2 separate regions of the Homo sapiens genome follow, and region 1 is linked to region 2. The links are contacts of gene promoters, found by promoter capture Hi-C in blood cells and fetal thymus (Javierre and others, 2016). All regions are on one chromosome and are shown on one strand. Each heading gives the region's core, a stretch centred on a gene start or on the middle of the fragment in contact. The rest is flanking DNA. Distances are from core to core; before and after follow the strand shown.

Region 1 (3,400 bases), core at 860-3,359, 490 kb before region 2:
GGCTGTCATGGGGCTGTTGCTGCTCTGCAGGCCCTCGGAGGCGCGGAGCTTGGAGAACATGGCCAGCGCATCGGGGAAGTTGGGCGGCGTGGCAGGGGTGTTGCTGGGAGTGCACATCTGCGGGAGAGAACACGGGTGTGGGGAGGCTGCCTCGGGGGTCCCCGAGCCACTGGATGGGGCTTACCCAGGCCAGCCGCTCCTTTACTCCCATTTTTCAGCTTCATTCATTTTCGCACAAGCAGCTTCCACAGGACAAAAGTGCCCTCTCCCCGAGGCAATACAAACAGAAAACAAGGACAAAACCCAAGAACCTTATCAAAACCAACGGGGTTTCATGAGGCCTGGAAATGACACCCCGAGGAGCATTCAAAGTAAATGGTTAATTGCACCCAGGAGCTAAGGTGTCAGATTAAAGTGAAAGGGCAAGGGGGCAGCCCAGGACACCACTGTTCCGCACCTTCCCTGGGCAGGGAGACCAGCTGACTGCCCCACCAGCCACCCTCAGATGCTCCCAGGCTGCTAGGCAAGGGAGAGCGGCCAGCGGGGAGGCTCTCCCTCCTGTGCCAACCCTGGAAAAGTTAAGCCACCTTGGTGGATGGGTTCACACCACACTAAGGGTGACAGCCACCAGGCCTTGAAGGCTTTGCCTCCCTTAACAATGACACTTAGTGGCTTCAATTATCCTCTCTTTATGACAAATGAGGAAACTGAGGCCCAGAAGTCAAGTCACTTGCCCGAAAATGCACCCACAGCAGAGGGCAAGTTGAGAAGACGGACCTCCCCAGCTCCCAAGTCTGCAGGCCCAAGCTCTTAACATCTACTGGGCCACGCTGCACAGAGTCAAGAGCCCCTTTATATCTGGGCCCCTTGAGGACACAAACCAGGGATTTCAATGTCCTGTGTCTGTAGCCTCAGGCCACAAACACAGCTGGCCTGCCCTTGCCTGCAGGCTGGCAGTTTCTCAGTCTGTCCAGCCCCTCAGTCCTCTTCCTGGGGGTAGCTACAGTCCCCCATCTGCTGTCTTCTGTCACTACCCTGGGGGCAGGGGCTGGAGTGCCATCCAGGAGCACCTCGTCAGCAGCATGGGCAAGAGGCAACACAGAGAACAAGACCACACAAAACTGGCTGGGACCTCAAAGCTGCTTTCTCCCTTTCCCAGGAAGCCACAGGAGTCCTTCTTTGAATTTCTCCTAATTTTAGCAACACTGGCCCCTCCCCCAGGCGCAGGAGTTGGGGGAACGACTTGAGGGCTCTTCACCTTGAAAGAGGGAGCTTTGGCAGGGCGCAGTGGCTCACGTCTGTAATCCCAGCACTTTGGGAGGCCGAGGCGGGTGGATCACCTGAGGTTAGGAGTTCGAGACCAGCCTGACCAACATGGTGAAACCCTGTCTCTATTAAAAAATACAAAAATTAGCTGGGTGTGGTGATGGGCGTCTATAATCCCAGCTACTTGGGAGGTTGAGGCCGGAGAATCACTTGAACCCGGGAGGTGGAGGTTGTAGTGAGCTGAGATCACGTCACTGCACTCCAGCCTAGGTGGCAGAGCAAAACTCCGTCTCAAAAAAAAAAAAAAAAAAAACAGAGGGAGCTTTCACAGCTAGAAACCGGAGGTTGTGTAGGGGGTGTGTAACATACATGGAATGGGGACACTAGCACACCCTGTCCATTGAGCCCCACACCATGTCAGCACCCAGGGCACCAAGGGAGCTCTGACCCTTGCCTTTCTAGGGGTCCTCAGGGGGAGGCCAAAGGACCCAATGCAGAGGCCTGGCCCCACCCAGACCTTTCCCCTCCTCCCTCCACTACTCCCTGCCCCCCCCCCACCCTCTGGGGATGACTTCTCGGCAGCAGGAAACAATGAATGAAGGGTGGGGGTGGAGGCCAATTGCATCACAGCATCGTGACCGACTTCCCCAGTTCCCCGCCAGCCAGCGAGGCCTGTCTCCTCAAACAGCCGCCAGAGAACAGCAGGGATGATGGCTGGCAGGCCTGTGGTGGCCTGCCTGTGTAAGCTTGGGCAAGTTCCTGAACCTCTCTGGAGCTTCTCTCTGCTTTTGTAAAATGAGGGTTTTGAACCAGATATGCCCTCTCGGCCAGTTCTCAAGAAAACCCATTGTCCCCTGTACCTTTGTCCTCCCACTTCAAGTCTGTAGTGCCTTTCTCCACTTCCAACTGGGAAGCCCTCCTTATCAACTGGGAAGCTTCCAACTATGGGAATCTACAGTAATGTACGGGACAACCATTTATCAGTTACTCATGACTTCTGGTTTTGCCATTTTGCTGTTACTGGTCTCTAGTGTTTCGTTTTTTGATCTTTTTCCTTTGACTTACTTTGTCCAAAATAAATTGCCAGGCCGGGTGCAGTGGCTCACGCCTGTAATCCCTGAACTTTGGGAGGCCGAGGCAGGCGGACCACCTGAGGTTGGGAGTTCGAGACCAGCCTGATCAACATGGAGAAACCCCGTCTCTACTAAAAATACAAAATTAGCCAGGTGTGGGATTACAGGTGGCACGTGCCTGTAATCCCATGAGGCAGGAGAATCGTTTGAACCCAGGAGGTGAAGGTTGCGGTGAGCCGAGATCACACCATTGCACTCCGCCTAGGCAATAAGAGTGAAACTCTGTCTCAAAAAAAAAAAAAAAGAAAAGAAATTGCCAGCTGGGTGCAGTGGCTCACACCTATAATCCCAGCACTTCGGGAGGCTGAGGCGGAAGGATAGCTTGAGGCCAGGAGTTCAAGACCAGCTTGGGCCACATAGAGACTCCCCCTGCCCTGGCCTTTCTCAAAAATAAAATTAGAAAAAAAAAAAAAAAAAAAAAGAAACCATGAACTTTTTGAGAGCAGGGATGGTGTCCTCCACTGTGCTGCTAAGGCACTCAGACTTGGGCACTGATGGACACACTGGTTATGTGTGTTACAAAACCTGCTGCCTTCCTTGAGGGAAGCTTCAAAAGAGACTTAGCATCTCCTTGGGATTTGCAGAGGAGGGGCAATAGGAACTAAACAGGATGCCAGACCAGCTCTTCCTGGGGAGCCTCCCTGTTCTCAGCCCCTCAGAATGGCTGTAGTATCTGGAAGTTCTGAGTTTTTTGGGATGGCCACAGCTGGTGGAAGGAAATCTCAAGGATCCGGTGACAGGAGATGGCAGGAAGCTTCGAGACTCAAGCATAGGCGGGTGCTGGCCATTTCTCCTGGTCAAGTGCAGGGGACGGTGTCCCCTGGAGATGAAACCCTCTTGGGTTTCTAAGAGCCCTGTGGCCAGCACCATGCTCCCATCATACTCAAATGCCATTTTGGCTTGATTTATATACAGCATCAGCCATTCTGAGAAAAACTAGCTAACAAGGTCAAGACAGACCCCTCTACTTGTCCTCTGTGACTAGATGAAAACAGAGAGCC
Region 2 (3,533 bases), core at 635-3,134:
GAGCTGAGATCGCGCCACTGCACTCCAGCCTGGCAGCAGAGCAAGAGTCCGTCTCAAAAAAAAAAAAAAAAAAATTAAGAAGGCTGAAATAATAACAGGAATTTGATACCAGAGATTGAGATGAAGCTGAGCTAGTTTTTCAAAGTGTGCATTTTTTTCTCATTGTTTGATACTTGACCACTGGTGTGACAAGTCAATATTGAGGTATTTGTACTTACGTACTGTAATTCTCTGAAGGTCAGGCATGGTGGCTCATGCCTGTAATCCTAGCACTTTGGGAGGCTGGGGCAGAAGGATTGCTTGAGTCCAGGAGGTCAAAACTGCAGTGAGCCGTGGTCACTGCACCACTGCACTCTAGCATGGGTGACTGGGCAAGACCCCACTTCAAAAAAAAAAAAAATTACCGGCCAGGGGCGGTGGCCCATGCCTGTAATCCCAGCACTTTGGGAGGCCAAGGCGGGTGGATCACAAGGTCAGGAGATCAAGACCATCTTGGCTAACACGGTGAAACCCCGTCTCTACTAAAAATACAAAAAAATTAGCCGGGCGTGGTGGCAGGCGCCTGTAGTCCCAGCTACTCGGAGGCTGAGTCAGGAGAATGGTGTGAACCCAGGAGGCGGAGCTTGCAGTGAGCTGAGATCGTGCCACTGCACACCAGCCTGGGCGACAGAGTCAGACTCCGTCTCAAAAAAAAAAATTAATTTAGTTGAAACCTATGCATACCTGTATCTGCTACTTTTTCTTTTAATAGTTTAGAATATTTGCTGGACCAGCATCAGAACTATAGAGTAGAATGCCCAAGGCTCTATTTCAATTTTCTGGGCTTTGCTTGGCTAGTCTTAACCTTAAGCCTGCTATGGTATTTTATATACTTGAGGCAACTGAAGAACTGACTATTACAATCTACCCAAGACATTTACTTAGGCAAAGGTAGGGATTAGCATATTTACACATTTGTCATGTTTCTTCAGAAGTAATACCTGCCAGGATATGCTATTAAACAAAAGGGCACATATCTAGTTTAGTTATCTTTTGTTTATTCTTTATGGACATGCAAATACTATAGTAGGACTATTTACTTTCTAGCTGTAGTCATTTCATTCACTTGAAGTACATAATTCAAGTAACATGTTGCTTAGTAAGTTACCTCTTGTTTAAGCATATGGAAATCAAAAAATATTTTGTGACACCTTAAAAACATACAAAACAGTTCCTCTAAAATAATTTATTAACATGTTTATTTGTATTTATTATTTACCCCTTCCCACCCCACCAAGAGACCTGCTTTTTGTTAAAAATGTATGTGCATGATATATGAAATACTTGATAATATAACATGATTTACTGAATTCTAATTCTCACACTACGCACTTAACTATCAAAATATTATGAAAGGTAAATAATCCAGGGAACACATTTTATTTTACATCGGAAAATATTTACAAAAATTTTGTTAAAGTAGCCTCTCTGGGTGCATAGCATTCGCTTGATGCCTGTGAGTTTAGACTCCTGCTCATTCTGATAGAGACCAATGCAATTCATTTGCATTGACTTTCTATTGCAGAGCTTTGGAACCAAGGGAAGGATCCAAACATAGCTCCATTTTATCCAATCAGAAGGGCCGCTTAGTGCTAAACTCTGATTCGTCCATTCCTCTTTGCATCCATCCAATCATTAGGCCACTTTAACAGCCAATCAGCGGCGTAGATATGCACCAATCATGGAACAGTGCCGAAGCACGGCCTTTGTGTCGGGGGATGTCAGCGCGTCGGCGAAAGCGCCCACCAATAGAAAAAGTCGTTGGTGTATGCAAATAAGGGTTCTATGACGCAGAGACGCAGCGTGAAGCGTGCCTATAAAAACGGAGGCGACGCGGGGGCTTGGAGCGCAGAGCGGTTTGGTCGTTCGTTGGGCGGTGCTGGTTTTTCGCTCGTCGACTGCGGCTCTTCCTCGGGCAGCGGAAGCGGCGCGGCGGTCGGAGAAGTGGCCTAAAACTTCGGCGTTGGGTAGGCGTTCGTAGGTTTACCCGCGGCTTCAGGTTCTGCCAACCGTTGGCGCCGCGCGCCGCGGCCGTTGGGAGCCGAGCGGCGGGGGCTGCTCGGGCCGCTGGCGTCGGGTCGGGTATGGGGCCGGGAGGTTTCCCCTTGGGGCTTTGTTCCGGAACTGTGTCCCCGCCTTTTCCCGGCGGTGATTCAGAGGTCCCGACGCCGGGTTCCGGGCAGTCGGGCCTCCGCCCGTCGAGGAAGGGAAGTGACTCCTCCCCGCGCTCCCCCTCCCGGGGGAGGCTGCCGCTCCTCGCAGCCTGAGTCATTAGGGGAGGGGGAGGAGGTTGGCGGCCCTCGGCCATCTGCTGCCGCGAGGTGGGGCGCGGGGAGGCGGGAGGCCCGGCGGTGGGGCCAGGATCTGTTCCTCCCCCCGCAGCCCTGGGGGGCGGCCCGGGTGAGCGCGGCGGCCTTATCTTCGGGGCGTCTTTCTTAGGTGAAAGAAAATGGCCCGAACCAAGCAGACTGCTCGTAAGTCCACCGGTGGGAAAGCCCCCCGCAAACAGCTGGCCACGAAAGCCGCCAGGAAAAGCGCTCCCTCTACCGGCGGGGTGAAGAAGCCTCATCGCTACAGGTAGGTCGGGCGGGGGAACAATGGCCCGGCGGTGGCCGGCTTTGTGCGGCAGCGTCCGCTCACTCCTCCCCTGCTCGCTGCAGGCCCGGGACCGTGGCGCTTCGAGAGATTCGTCGTTATCAGAAGTCGACCGAGCTGCTCATCCGGAAGCTGCCCTTCCAGAGGTTGGTGAGGGAGATCGCGCAGGATTTCAAAACCGACCTGAGGTTTCAGAGCGCAGCCATCGGTGCGCTGCAGGTAAGACAAAGGCCTGGAGCCGGGGGAGGGCTGGGCGGTTTCCGCTCCCCGAGTGGGATTAATAGTGCGGCTCTCGTCCTCAACAGGAGGCTAGCGAAGCGTACCTGGTGGGTCTGTTCGAAGATACCAACCTGTGTGCCATCCACGCTAAGAGAGTCACCATCATGCCCAAAGACATCCAGTTGGCTCGCCGGATACGGGGAGAGAGAGCTTAAGTGAAGGCAGTTTTTATGGCGTTTTGTAGTAAATTCTGTAAAATACTTTGGTTTAATTTGTGACTTTTTTTGTAAGAAATTGTTTATAATATGTTGCATTTGTACTTAAGTCATTCCATCTTTCACTCAGGATGAATGCGAAAAGTGACTGTTCACAGACCTCAGTGATGTGAGCACTGTTGCTCAGGAGTGACAAGTTGCTAATATGCAGAAGGGATGGGTGATACTTCTTGCTTCTCATGATGCATGTTTCTGTATGTTAATGACTTGTTGGGTAGCTATTAAGGTACTAGAGTTGATAAATGTGTACAGGGTCCTTTTGCAATAAAACTGGTTATGACTTGATCCAAGTGTTTAACAATTGGGGCTGTTAAGTCTGACCATACATCACTGTGATAGAATGTGGGCTTTTTCAAGGGTGAAGATACAAGTCTTAACCACAGTGTAACTTACAGTTTCCTTTAA

Evidence for each region. Contacts are between HindIII fragments. The CHiCAGO score rates a contact against its expected background, and 5 or more counts as called.
Region 1: a contact is called between a fragment that was not itself captured here and the fragment with the promoter of H3-3B in region 2, in 1 of 17 cell types (fetal thymus). The highest score is 7.4, in fetal thymus.

Annotation. Positions count from the first base shown.
Region 1 is chr17:76,266,911-76,270,310 of GRCh38, reverse strand. It overlaps UBALD2 (UBA like domain containing 2), which reads right to left. Exons shown (of 3, transcript NM_182565.4): 3 at 1-117. Among named protein-coding and RNA genes, the nearest start is that of UBALD2, 3.3 kb to the right of the region's middle. RefSeq lists enhancers at 61-250, 1,951-2,180. The HindIII fragment of the contact is 189 bases long and covers 2,015-2,203 here.
Region 2 is chr17:75,778,130-75,781,662 of GRCh38, reverse strand. H3-3B (H3.3 histone B) reads left to right here and starts at 1,884. Exons shown (of 4, transcript NM_005324.5): 1 at 1,884-2,006; 2 at 2,479-2,616; 3 at 2,700-2,853; 4 at 2,940-3,533. The coding sequence starts at 2,489. The coding sequence ends at 3,068. RefSeq lists a silencer at 2,294-2,563 and an enhancer at 2,192-2,796. The HindIII fragment of the contact is 7,034 bases long and covers 1-3,533 here.